2 separate regions of the Homo sapiens genome follow, and region 1 is linked to region 2. The links are contacts of gene promoters, found by promoter capture Hi-C in blood cells and fetal thymus (Javierre and others, 2016). All regions are on one chromosome and are shown on one strand. The core of a region is centred on a gene start or on the middle of the fragment in contact, and the rest is flanking DNA. Distances in the headings are between cores, read along the strand shown. Region 1 overlaps ABCC5 (ATP binding cassette subfamily C member 5). Region 2 holds the start of CAMK2N2 (calcium/calmodulin dependent protein kinase II inhibitor 2).

The links. Contacts are between HindIII fragments. The CHiCAGO score rates a contact against its expected background, and 5 or more counts as called.
Region 1: a fragment that was not itself captured here is called in contact with the fragment with the promoter of CAMK2N2 in region 2 in 3 of 17 cell types (endothelial precursors, M1 macrophages and M0 macrophages); the score reaches 7.4 in endothelial precursors.

What each region holds. Positions count from the first base shown.
Region 1 is chr3:183,990,080-183,997,206 of GRCh38, reverse strand. The region is part of intron 2 of ABCC5 (ATP binding cassette subfamily C member 5); the gene reads left to right. Among named protein-coding and RNA genes, the nearest start is that of ABCC5-AS1, 13 kb to the left of the region's middle. RefSeq lists an enhancer at 6,634-7,127. The HindIII fragment of the contact is 1,078 bases long and covers 5,216-6,293 here.
Region 2 is chr3:184,260,056-184,266,841 of GRCh38, reverse strand. It overlaps CAMK2N2 (calcium/calmodulin dependent protein kinase II inhibitor 2), which reads left to right and starts at 5,289. Exons shown (of 2, transcript NM_033259.3): 1 at 5,289-5,725; 2 at 6,615-6,786. The coding sequence starts at 5,557. The coding sequence ends at 6,685. The region is part of intron 2 of EEF1AKMT4-ECE2 (EEF1AKMT4-ECE2 readthrough); the gene reads right to left. RefSeq lists enhancers at 3,435-4,197, 6,083-6,634, 6,635-6,786. The HindIII fragment of the contact is 12,942 bases long and covers 1,735-6,786 here.

The sequences.
Region 1 (7,127 bases), core at 4,505-7,004, 270 kb after region 2:
CTGCCTGTGGAGATCTTCATACTTTAAGGCCATAAGAAAAAATAGTTTTGTTGGAGTAAGAGAATTATTTTCTCTTGTTTTTATTTTTTATTTATTTATTTTTCATGTTAACATTTGAAAGTTCTTGCCAACAGCTGAATATCTGTTGCTTATTGTTTTGAGAGACCTGTCTCTGAAGGAGGTAGGTGCAAATATGGAGTAGGACAGTGGTTCCTTCAAAGGAGAAGATCCTGTATCATATCCTGTATTTCCATCAGATATTTCATTTTCCTGACTTGGGCAATGTGTAAAGATATGACAACAAGATTGACAATTTGGGAAAACGTTTAGGAAAGAATAACAGGGACAGGATGTGACTTGGAAAGTTCGTTGCTTAGAGTAGCAAGGTTTGATTCTTTTTGATCAACAATATAGACTTTTCCATCCTCTTACTGTGAGAATTTCTACTCCATGCTTTGTTACATGAGAATTCTGAGATTAGTGCTATTTCAACCACTTTTATGGGGGTTTGTTAGGATAAAATTGCACTGAGTGCCTGTTCTAAAACCAAAGGCAGCAGGAGAGCCCTGAGTCTCTGCCATCAGTAGTGCCACTGCAGTACTCACGAGAAACCTGGGGAATGAAGACTTGCCTGGCAGCTTTCATTTGAATCTTTTTAAAAAGAGCCTTTGATTTTGATGTTTTCCAATATAGGAAGTAACTTACTACCTAGGAGGTGGTGAAACATGACATAGTTATATATAGTAAAAAGAACAAAAACCATGCAATCAGAGGATTTTAAAAATATTAAGTCCATTTAGTTTTCTATGAATAGGTTTTAGTGAAAACTGTCACTAGGCATTTTAGAAATGAAGAAAATGAAATCAGTGTGTTATACACATAGGAACTGGCATTTTTTTGGTTCCCACCATCTGGAATAGTCTTACAGATCGGAGGCACTCGGTAAGTTATTTGTGGAAAGAATGGATGAAAGCTGTGAAGATTCTGGTTTCCTATTAATGCTAATATGCCATGCTCATGTAAACATACTGATGGATTGCTTGCCAAGTTTTCCTCTTCTGATGCTTCTCAAACATCAAAGATGTTTATAGAACCCTTCTGGCCGGACACGGTGGCTTACACCTGTAATCCCAACACTTTGGGAGGCCGAGGCAGGCGGATCATGAGGTCAGGAGATCGAGACCAGCCTGGCCAACACGGTGAAACCCCATCTCTACTAAAAATACAAAAAATTAGCCGGGCGTGGTGGCGGGTGCCTGTAATCCCAGCTACTCGGGAGGCTGAGGCAGGAGAATGGAGTGAACCCGGGAGGCGGAGCTTGCAGTGAGCTTAGGTCGCACCACTGCACTCCAGCCTGGGCGACAGAGTGAGACTCTGTCTTAAAAAAAAACAACAACAAGAAAACCCCTTCTAACTCTTGAACTTGGTTCACCTGGAAAAGCAAAAGAACTAGAATAGCTAAAACAATTTTGAAAAGGAAGGATAAAGTTGAAGGCATCACACTATCCAATTTTAAGACTTAGTTTGTAGCTACAGTAATCAAGTCAGTAGTATCAATGTAGGGGTAGACAAATAGATCAATGAAATAGAGTCTAGAAATAGACTCACACAGGCATGGCCAACTTTTCGACATAAGTGCAGCACACCTCACTGGAGAAATGGTAATCTTTTCAACACATGGTACTGGAACAACCGGACATCTGTAGGCAAAAAAGTGAACCTTTGCCGAAACCTTACACTTTATACAAAAATTAACTCAAAATGAACCATAGATTTAAATATAAAATGTAAAACTATAAAGCTTTTAAGAGAGCACATAGGAGAAAATCTTCATGACCTGGGGGTTGGAAGAAGAGTTCTTAGGCATGACACTAAAAGCACAATTGTAAAAGAAAAAAATTGGTAAATTAGACTTCAAAATTACAAACTTTTGCTGCATGAATGGCCCTAATTAGGAGGATGAAACATGGCCATAAAATGGGAGAAAATATTTGCAAATCATATGACAAAGAACTTTAATCCAGAATATATAAGGAACTTGCTAAACTCAATAATAAAAAAAAAAATTCACTTAGAAAATAAGCTGTAATTTCAGCACTTTGGGAGGTCAAGGTGGGAGGATCGCTTGAGCCCAGGAGTTCAAGACCGGCCTGGGCAACATAGTGCTGTCTCCACAAAATAAAAATAATTAGCTGGGTGTGGTAGCACGTGCCCGTAGTCCCAGCTACTTGGGAGGTGGGAGGATCACTTGAGCCTGGGAGTTCAAGGCTGCAATGAGCCGTGATCATGCCATTGCACTCCCAGCCTGGGCAACAGAGCAAGACCTTGTCTTAAAAAAAAAAAAAAAAAAACATAGAAAATGGGCAAAAGACTTGAACAGATACTTCAGCAAAAAGAATGTAGGGGTGACATATAAGTACACATAGATGTTAAACATTATTCGTTCACCATTAGGGTAGTGCAAATTAAAACCACAATAAGATACCATACCACACCTATTAGAATGGCTAAAATAAAATATAATGCCAATACTGGCCAGGTGCGGTGGCTCACGCCTGTAATCCCAGCACTTTGGGAGCCCAAGGCAGGCGGATCACTAGGTTAGGAGTTCGAGACCAGCCTGACCAACATGGTGAAACCCCGTCTCTACTAAAAATAGAAAAATTAGCCAGGCGTGGTGGTGGGCATCTGTAATCCCAGCAACTCAGGAGGCTGAGGCAGGAGAATTGCTTGAACCCTGGAGGCGGAGGTTGCAGTGACCCGAGATTGCACCACTGCACACCAGTCTGGGCGACAGATCAAGACTCCGTCTTGGGGGTAAAAAAAAAAATGCCAATACCAAGCACTGGTGAGGATGTGGGGAAACTAGATTTCTCATCCATTGCTAGTGGGAATGTAAAATGGTACTGTGGTCAAGTAATTTCAATGACAACTAATATTTGAATCATAAATAATGTCAAGCTGCTTTATATACTTCTTGTGCTATCAAAAGTTAAACAAGAAGTGAGATCTCCACTTGAAGTCAGGAGTTTGAGACTAGCCTGGGCAAAATGGCATCTCTACTAAAAATACAAAAATTAGACGGGTTGGTGGTGGGCATTTGTAATCCCAGCTACTTGGGAGGCTGAGGCAAGTGAATTGCTGGAACCCGGGAAGCGGAGATTGCAGTGAGCCAAGATTGCGCCACTGCACTCCATCCTGGGTGACAGAGCGAGATGCTGTCTCAAAAAAAAAAAAAAAAAAAAGTGAGATCTCCATTCCAGTACAAATTTGTAGTGGATATATTTTTCAAACTGAAATTACAGTTCTAGTAGTGATTTTTAGACCTCGATGATGTATGAGGCAAATTTCCATATTTCAAGATCCGTGTATTTTGGAAATAGTGGCAATGGTTGTATAGTATTGTGAATATAATTAATGCCTCTGAATTCTATACACTTAAAATGGCTAAAATGGCAAATTTTATGTTATATATATTTTGCCACATAGAAATAATCCATTTAACTGTGGCATTTAGTTGCTTCCACATAACTTTCCATTGAAAGTGATTAATCTGCAGTGGGGTGCATGCATGTAATGATATGATAAAGGTAAATGTCAAGAGAGGAATCTAATAGAATTCTATAATGTCTTCCATGAGATAAAAGGCTCAATTAAAAATGTGTATTCCTGGATTTAGCTCAGTATTTGGAAGTTCCTGTCTTTTTTTTTTTTTTTTTTTTTGAGACAGGGTCTTGCTCTGTCACCCAGGCTGGAGTGCAGTGGCACAATCTTAACTCATTGCAATCTCTGCCTCCCTGGTTCAAGAGATCCTCCTACCTCAGCCTCCTGAGTATCTGGGACTATAGGTGTGTGCCACCACGCCCTGCTAATTTTTGTATTTTTGGTAGAGATGGGGATTCACCATGTTGACCAGGCTGGTTTCAGACTCCTGACCTAAGGAGTCTGCCTGCCTTTGCCTCCCAAAGTGCTGGGCTTACAGGTGTGAGCCACTGCGCCCAGCCCGGCAGTACCTTCACGAAGACATTTGCAAAAGTGGAATTGTAGACTCTCATTGCAAATCAGCATTCATAGATGAAGATTTGCAATCAATTTTGATGAAAGGGAAAACTATTTTAAACCCCAGTTAAGTGAAATGTTATTCCCCCATAAAAGAATTTCATTCTTCTCATCAGTAGACCTGCATTACAAAAAATTGTACTCAATTATTATAATCTGAATTGTGTCAACATTTTGTGGAGATTTGTTTTCTCTTGTAATAGGAGTACCTACTTAATATCTTTGATTTTGCCTCTTAGCCCACAAAACTGAAAATATTTACCTCTGGCCTTTTACAGAAAATGTTTGTCAACCCCTAGCTTAAAGCATTGATTTTTCTCTTTTTCTTCTTTTATTTTTTTATTTTTTATTTTTTTTTTGAGACGGAGTCTCGCTCTTTCGCTCAGGCCGGAGTGCAGTGGCGCTATCTTGGCTCACTGCAAGCTCCGCCTCCCAGGTTCACACCGTTCTCCTGCTTCAGCCTCCCGAGTAGCTGGGACTATAGGTGCCTGCCATGGCGCCCAGCTAATTTTTTGTATTTTTTTTTAGTAGAGACGGGGTTTCACCGTGTTAGCCAGGATGGTCTCGATCTCCTGACCTCGTGATCCGCCCACCTTGGCCTCCCAAAGTGCTAGGATTACAGGCGTATATGCTTTGAAAGCGATGAAAATCTCACCTTATTCTCTGTTTTAGCTGCATCCCAGAGATGTTGATGTATTGCAGTTTCATACTGTTTAGCACAGAATATGTTCTGGTTTCCATTTAATGCCTTCTTTTTATTTATTAATTTAAAGAGATAGAGTCTTGTTCTGTTGCCCAGTCTGGAGTGTAGTGGTGAGATCAAAGTTCACTGCAGCCTCAAACTCCTGAGCTCAAGCAATCCTCCCACCTCAGCCTCCTGAGTAGTTGAGATTATATAGGTACAAATTGTCATGCCCGTTTGATGTTTTCTTTCACTTACATTACTTAGAAGTATATTGCATAATTTCTGAACATTCAGATATTTTAAAAATCTTTGTTACTGAACTCTAATTAAATCCTAAAGTGGTCAGAGTGCATGTATACATGATGTCAGTCTTGAGATTTGTTGAGGTTTGCTTTATAGCCCAATGTATAGTCCATTTTGGCAATGTATTTGAAGTGACATTTTTCAGATCTTTTGTCATCTTCTGAAGCTTTGGATATCCAAATAAGGCTGGTCCCTGTAACATTCTGTACCTACTCTGTACAGATTCCCAGTTTCTACTCACTTAAAGTAGGTGTGCTTGTATTTTTAGTGTATCTTTCTCTCTCAATCCAGGAGGTTTTTTCCTTCCCCTTGTGATTATATGCAGCTCATAGGTAAGAAAAACCTTTGTAATGTACTTAAATCTCAGCAGTCCTCAGCTCATTATCAAGTGCCGTAGTCCCTAACCACTAAATTAAGTGTTGACCTTATACATAAGGACTTCATTTAAGAGCGAGTTCGTTCTTGTTGTTGACTCCTGTCATGTTGTACCATTATTCTCTTGAAACTGGTCTGACTTGCCTTTGACAAAAGGAAAGGAGTGTGCTTTGCAGGGCTATGTGCTTTCCTAATACCAGAAGTTATCTAAAGATACTTAACTGTGCTGTGAACTAAAGCTATTGTGTTTGATCTGCCCAGGCATCCAGCTGACTCCTGTATACAAAATTCTACCCGTTCAGTTCTGTTAATGTTTAAGTTCCCGCTGTTCTTTGGTGGGAAAGGAGGTGATGTATAAAAATCAACTGCTTTGTATAAGGCTTGGTGTGTTAGGTGCTAAACCACTTAACTTTTTCTTGATTTGGGGATCTATTCTCCTTGTTTTTTTGTTTGTTTGTTTGTTTTTTGTTTTTTTTTTCCTTCTTTTAGAGACAGAGTCTTGCTCTGTCACCCAGGCTGGAGTGCAGTGGTACGATCATAGCTCATTGCAGCCTCCAACTCCTGGGCTGAAGTCATCCTCCTGCCTCCATCTCCCAAGTAGCTGGTACTGCAGGCACGCATCACCATGCCTGGCTGATTTTTTTTTTTTACTTTTTGTAGAGATGGTGTGTTGCTGTGTTGCCCAGGGTGGTCTTGAACTCCTGAGCTCAACCGATCCTTCCAAAGTGTCAGGATTACAGGCGCGAGCCACCATGCCCAGCTGAGATCTGTTTTTTACTGTTTCACAATAATTGCTGGAAATATTTGTAATAATGTGACTTTCACTGCTAAGACAGAAAAGGAAGATAAGGAAATTGAGGAAAATGAAGCTTCTGCTTCTACAACAGGAAAGCATAAACGTTTGAGTTACTTTTAGAGTAAACGGGGGATAAGTGTGTCTAGATTCTTGACCCACCCTCTTCTGCCACAGTCAGACTTAGAATGCACTTTTGCATGCACTTTTGTTAATCTAATGAACGAACATTTATACACTTTCTAGTTAGTAAATACGTGTAACTTTATATTTCAGCTCATGAGATCCTTTGCTGCGTGCTGCAGGGAAGTGTAGAGCTCTTCAGCTGTGCAGCCAGGATAAGAACTCACGTTCTGTTCTCCCTGCTGCTGCTGTGACAGGGGAGGCACGTGTACATCCAGGCTCTTTCTGTGTGGCAGGGCTGTTTAATTGGGGCTGATGGAAATTTTTGTCATAGGAAATGGGCAATCAGATTTTCAGTTAGTAGTGAAATAATTGACTCTCAATCCATATTGGGAAACAGAAGATAAAACATTTGGTAATAAAAATGTAAATTTTAGAACATAGAACACAAAGAGTGGTCCATAAGCTGGGCGCGGCAGCTCACACCTATAATCCCAACACTTTGGGAGGCTGAGGTGGGCGGATCACGAGGTCAAGAGATCAAGACCATCCTGGCCAACATGGTGAAACCCCGTGTCTACTAAAAATACAAAAATTAGCTGGGCATGGTGGTGCACGCCTGTAACCCCCCTACTCGGAGGCTGAGACATGAGAATTGCTTGAACCGGGGAGGCTGAGATTGCAGTGATCCAAGATCATGCCACTGCACTCCGGCCTGGGCAACAGAGCGAGACTCCATCTCAAAAATAAAATAAAATAAAAACAGGGCCGGGCGCGGTGGCTCATGCC
Region 2 (6,786 bases), core at 4,040-6,539:
CTGGGATTACAGGTGTAAGCCACCACACCCGGCCTATATTTTTTGAGATGGAGTCTTGTTTTGCCACCCAGGCTGGAGTGCAGTGGCCAATCTTGGCTCACTGCTACCTCTGCCTCCCGGGTTCAAGCAATCCTCCTGCCTCAGCCTCCCCAGTAGCTAGGATTACAGGCGCCCACCACCATGCCCAGCTAATTTTTGTACTTTTAGTAGAGATGGGGTTTTGCCATGTTGGCCAGGCTGGTCTTGAACTCCTGACCTCAGGTGATCCACCCGCCTCAGCCTCCCAGAGTGCTGGGATTACAAGTGTGAGCCACCACACCCAGCTTACCCCAAAATATTTCTAACAGCTTGTATTTGTTTCTTAGGGCCGCTGTAACAAGGTACCACAAACTGAGGGCTTAAAACAACAGAAACTTATTCTCTCACAGTTTTGGAGGCCAGAAGTCCAAAATCAAGGTGTTGGTAGGGTTAAGCTCCTTTGGAAGACTCTAGTAAAGAATTCTTCCTTGCCTCTTTCAGCTGCTGGTGGCTCCCAACAATTCTTGGTTTTCCTTACCTTGTAGTTCCCTCACTCCTATCTCTGCGTCTTTCATGTGGCCTTTTTCCCTGTGTGTCTGTTCTCTTCTTATAAACACATTGGTGATGGGATTTAGGGCCCACCATAATCCAGTATAACCCCATCTTAATTTATTTTTTATTTTTTTCTTTCTATATAAGACAGGGTCTCCCTATGTTGCCCAGGCTGGTCTTCAACTCCTGGGCTCATGGGATCTTCCTGCCTTGGCCTCCCAAAGTGCTAGGATTACAGGCATGAGCCACCACACCCGGCCTATATTTTTTTATTTTATTTTATTTTATTTTTTGAGACAGGATCTCACTCTGTCACAGAGGCTGGAGTGCAGTGGCACAATCTGGGCTATTTTTAGTAGAGATGGGGTTTCTCCATCTTGGCCAGGCTGGTCTTGAACTCCTGACCTCAGGTGATCCACCCGCCTGGGCCTCCCAAAGTGCTGGGATTACAGGCATTAGCCACCTAGCCTGACTGTACCTTATCTTAACTAATTGTATCTGCAAAAGCCCTATTTCCAAATAAGGTCACACTTTTTTTTTTTTTAGACAGGGTCTTGCTCTGCCACCCAGGCTACAGTGCAGTGCGGTACAGTCATAGCTCACTGTCAACTAGCTTCTGTGCTCAAGTTATCCTCCTACCTCAGCCTCCCAAGTAGCTGGGACTACAGGCATGCACCACCATGCCTAACTAATTTTTTTTTTTTTAGTAGAGATGGCGTCTCACTATATTGCCCAGGCTGGTTTTGAACTCCTAGGCTCAAGTCATCCTCCCGCCTTGGCCTCCCAAAGTGCTGGGATTACAGGCATGAGCCACTGCACCTGGCCCTGGGTCACACTTTGAGGTTACAGGTGAACATTGAATTGTTGTGGGAGTCCCTATTCAATCCACTACAGGGGTCTACAGTTTCCACTTGACTAAAAGTGTCACTAATACTCAATTGTCAAAAGGCATGTTATCTGTGTAGAGCACGTGGACAAGTATACTAGGTTTGAGGGACTTCCAATTGAGAGACTCAATGCACTGTCACGCAACTCTATACAAGCTTTATTTCATTTTAGTGAAAATGTATTTTCCTCTCATGGGAAGGAAGCAGAATATCAGAATTTTAAAGAGAGGAGCAGAATTTAAAGAAATCCCCACATTTTTACAACATAGCTGAAGCTTATATATCATAATAGTCCACAGGTTTGTACTTAGGACTTTTGCTTTAACCATGATCCAGCAGGCACGGCCGGGACGGGAATATAATTATTTAAGAAGGAGGTAACCAAGTGAATTCTGGATTAAACTGTCATTTTTCCAATCTCCCTCATTGTGCAGAGAGAAAGGAGAATTGTTTCAATTCCTCACACAATACTCTTATCTCATCCTTGGCAAGAACCCTCATGCCTCTTCTTTGGCATTTTAGGTGAGGGGCAGCTCACTACCTCCCGAGACAACCCACTTTACCCCAGGACAGTTTCATCTACAAAACTGTCCTTTTCTTTCTTTTTTGAGTCAGGGTCTTGCTCTGTCACCCAGGCCAGAGTGCAGTGGCACCATTATGGCTCACTGCAGCCTCAAACTCCTGTGCCCAGGTGATCCTTCTACCACAGCCTTGCAAGTAGCTGGGACCACAGGTGTGTACCACCATACCCGGCTTGCTTATTTATTTACTTATTTATTTAGAGATGGGGCCTAGTTATGTTGTCCAGCCTGGTCTCCAACTCCTGGCTTCAAGCGATCCTTCTGCTTCAGCCTTCTGAGTGGCGGAATTCATAGGTGTGAGCCATGAATGTTGCCCAGCAAAACGTTCCTTAATAAGTAGGTTTTATCATCCCCATGCTTCAGACTAGAACATGGGGCTTACAGAGGTATCATATCATGCAGACACATGGTGAAAAGACTAGAAGGATATATATATATATATATAGTTATAAGGCCGGGTGTGGTAGCTCATGCCTATAATCCCAGCACTTTGGGAGGCCAAGGCGGGCGGATCGCGAGGTCAGGAGTTCAAGACCAGCCTGGCCAACATAGTGAAACCTCATCTCTACAAAAAATACAAAGACTGGCAGGGCGCAGTGGCTCACACCTGTAATCTCAATACTTTGGGAGGCCGAGTGGGCGGATCACGAGGTCAAGAGATTGAGACCATCCTGGCCAACATGGTGAAACCCTGTCTCTACTAAAAATACAAAAATTAGCTGGGAGTGGTGGCACACACTTGTAGTCCCAGCTACCCAGGAGGCTGAGGCATGAGAATCACTTGAACACAGGAGGGGGAGGTTGCAGTGAGCTGAGATGGCGCCATTGCACTCCAGCCTGGCGACAGAGTGAGACTCCATCTCAAAAAAAAAAAAAAAAAAAAAAAAAAAAAAAAGCTGGGCATGGTGGCGTGTGCCTGTAGTCCCAGCTACTCGGGAGGCTGAGGCAGGAGAATCGCTTGAACCTGGGAGGTAGAGGTTATGGTGAGCCAAGATCGCGCCATTGCACTCCAGCCTGGGCAACGGAGCAAGACTCCGTGTCAAAAAAAAAAAAAAAAAAAAAGATGTTATGTGATTTTCTTAATTTTCCTAAAATTTTTTTCCTTCCTTCCTTCCTTTCTCTCTCTCTCTCTCTCTCTCTCTCTCTCTCTCTCTCTCTCTCTCTCTTTCTTTTATTGAGACGGAGTCTCGCCTCGCTTTGTCACCCAGGCTGGAGTGCAATGGCCCAATGTCCGCCAACTGCCACCTTTGCCACCCTAGGTCAAGCGGTTCTTGTGCCTCAGCCTCCCAAGTAGCTGGGACTGCAGGTGTGTGCCACACCTGGCTAATTTTTTTTGTATTTTTAGTAGAGACAGGGTTTTGCCATGTTGATCAGGCTGGTCTCAAACTCCTGACCTCAGGTGATCCACCCACCTCGGCCTCCCAAAGTGCTGGTATTGCAGGCGTGAGCCACTGAGCCCGGCCTCCTAAAATGTTTTAAGTACAAACGAATTAATTTTTTAAAACCATGATTATGGGTCCTTCAGTTCAAGGTCACTGAGAAAGTGGGAGTCAGGATTGGAACCCATTACTGGACAACTTCCAGTGTATGTGGAATTTTCTGGACTCTCTTCCAGTGACCCCAGTCTTCCGCCTTTATTGTCCTTCCAGTTTCAGGGCTCCTCTCACTCCAGGCTGGGCCTCCACCTCCAGCTGTGGCCCTCATCCCGGAGACTAGGACAGAGCAGAGGAGGGCTTCATAGTGATGGGCCCCCAGGCCTGGGCCCTTGAGTGAGGCTGGCATCAAGGTATCCTGTGGCATACCGCCCCCCCCATCCAGTTCCCTGGGCAGCCACCATTGCGTTTGTCCCTGTGTCTCCGGTATTAACACCTGGCGAGAAAGTGTTGGAAGGAGACCCACTACAAGGCAGCCTCACCAGCTGTGTGATTTGGTAATTTGGCCAGATTAAGGAAGGAAAGCGCGTTCGCCTGGAGTGTGGAATGAACGTACAGGGTGATCATTACCGTTTTCAGCGCTGCCGTCACTGTCGCCGCATGTGAGACACCCCCTCCTCCCCAAGGCCAGTGATTGCGCCAGAGCTCCTGCGCGCTGGCAAGCAGGTGACGCCGCGGGTGACGGCCAGCCAGGGCGGGGGTTGTGGGGGCGGGAGGCAAGGGGAGAAGAGGGCATGTTCCCATCGGTGAGGCGAGAACTCACCCGTGGTCCAAAGCAACGAGGGCGGGGGGCACCCTCCATCTCTACCGCACTCCCTCGGGGCACACACTGGCGCGCTCCGCGTCCTCAGGTGCTCCGAGCTTCCCCGCGTCACCCGCAGCCCAGGGCGCCCCCCGCGACGCCGCCATTCATTCCTCCTACACTGCGAGCGCACCACTCCAGAGCCGCGGGGGGCTACAGCCACCGGACTAGGGCTGGGGGTGTCTGCCCTGGTGCGCGCGCGTCGGCCCAGTTTCTATAGACCCCTCCTAGGAGAGACTGAAATACCCAGATTCAGGAGACGGAGACACTGGCACAGAGATACAGGAGTCAAGAATGGAGATAGATAGAGAAAGGCAGACACTTAAGGGACAGGCATAGACAAAGGCCATAACACAGCGAAAGAGATACGGGGCACAGAGACAGAGAGATACAGACACTTAGAGATGGACTGACACACACAAAGGCGGAGACAGAGACACAGACCGGCACTCAGAGGCGCACGGACCCTGACGATCTACTTAAGACCAGCAGAGCAACTAGTACAAGAGCGCGTCAGCGGCAAGGGCACCATCCCACTGGCCCGAGCTCTTCCCGCGCTGTGGGTTCGTGCCTTCCCCAGTCACCCTGTACCCGAGTCTCCTCCCCGCGCATTTCCCGCTCCCCGCTTTCCATTGCCAGCCCTGCGGCCGCCTTCCCGCCCCAACGCGCCCGGCCAGCTTTTGCCCTCCTGCTCCCAGTCCCCCTTGCACGCCTCTCCCAGCCTAGGGGTCAGACCCTCCTCCAAGCTCCTCCAGTACCAGGCTCGATCCCACCCCCCTTCGGTCCCGCCCCTCCCCGCGAGGTCCCGGCCGGGTTGGCTGGTACTATTCCCCAAGACCCACGTGCTGGCCATTCCCCGCCACAGTGCGGGAACCTCCCACTCCAGCTGCCTCTGTTCCCGGGGTAGCTGGGCGCGCTCCTGCCCCCGGCCCCGCCTCTTTCCCCTGGCCAGTGCCCGCCCCGCCTCCACCGCGCCCCGCCCGCCGTGCTCTGCCGCAGTCGGGCGCTCATCGTCATTCCGCTCTTGCCGCCGCCGCCGCCACCCCCGCCCCCCGCCCCCGCCCCCGCCCGGTCCCCGCCACCGCCGCCGCCGCCGCCTGCCCAGCGGCCCGGGAGGCGGAGGCGCGGGGGAGGAGGCCCCGCTTGGCTCCTCAGCCCCGGATGCTGCATGACTTCATCCTTCCGCCGGCTCCCCTGCTGAGGTAGGGCCGGTCCGGCAGCAAGCCCGCCGCCCGCGCCCCGCCGCAGTCCCGCTCCCGCCCCGCGCCCACCCCGCGCCCGCCATGTCCGAGATCCTGCCCTACAGCGAAGACAAGATGGGCCGCTTCGGCGCAGACCCCGAGGGCTCCGACCTCTCCTTCAGCTGCCGCCTGCAGGACACCAACTCCTTCTTCGCGGGCAACCAGGCCAAGCGACCCCCCAAGCTGGGCCAGATCGGCCGAGCCAAGCGAGGTACGCGGCCCGGGCCCGGAGTCGCCGCCTGACCCAGAAACCCTCCGCCGGGCGCCCCCCGGCTGCCGTTCCCCGCCGAGTGCCCGCAGCTCTTGCCGCAGACCAGCGCACCAGCCGCTCTCCAGCCCGGGCTGGAGGGGGGGGTCCCCGCTGCAGTGTGTGTCCCCCTCTTCCCTTCTCCCGGGAACACGGTGCCCCGGATTCGATGCTCGCCACCTCTGGAAGCAGAGCCCTGGCACCCGGGCGAGGGGGAGGGGCCGGTCGGGGCATTTGGGGCTGCACGGAAGTGGGAGCACGGGGTAACGGGCTGATTCTTTGGGATCAAATACTGAGTCGGTGGACAATACGAAGAACCTTCGGGTCGAGAGGGACGTCTAACAAGAGAGGGCAGGAGGCCGGGGGTCCGCTTGTCTTGGTTGTTTGCATGGGGAGGGGAGCTCTGTTGGTGCCAGGATCGGAAGAGGGGTTCCAGCGGCGAGAGGGCTCAGGTTGAGGAGAGGGCTGGACCAGCTGGATACTCGGTTTGAGCCCCATTTGAGCAGGGGGATCTGTTGAAGTGCGGGTTGAAGAGGGGGATTCCGTGAGCAAGAGGTTTCTGATCAACTCAGAGGGAGGAAGGCTCAGGTGGCAGGAGGGCTCGCACTGGGAGGGAGAATAGCTGGAGCCTTTGGAAGAGGGGCGTTCCGCCATCGGGAGGGGAGGGGGTCTAGGCTTGGCGGCGGGTTGGGTCTCCAGAAGAGTTCGGACGGGGAGGACACCGCGGCACAGGGTTCCGAGGGGCGTCGCTGGGCCACGGGCAGTAGCTGCGCGGGAAGCTAGGACGCGGGGCTCATTCTCATCGCCGCCGCCCCCCGAGGCCGCGCGGCTGACGCGCTTTCTCCCTGCGCAGTGGTGATCGAGGATGACCGGATAGACGACGTGCTGAAGGGGATGGGGGAGAAGCCGCCGTCCGGAGTGTAGACGCGCCGGCTCGGGCGGCGGGCTCCGGGCCCAGCCTCGCAGCGGCCAGGAGCGCGGGCCGGCGATGCGGCTGCCGGCGCCCCCCCGCCCCGGCCCAGGCG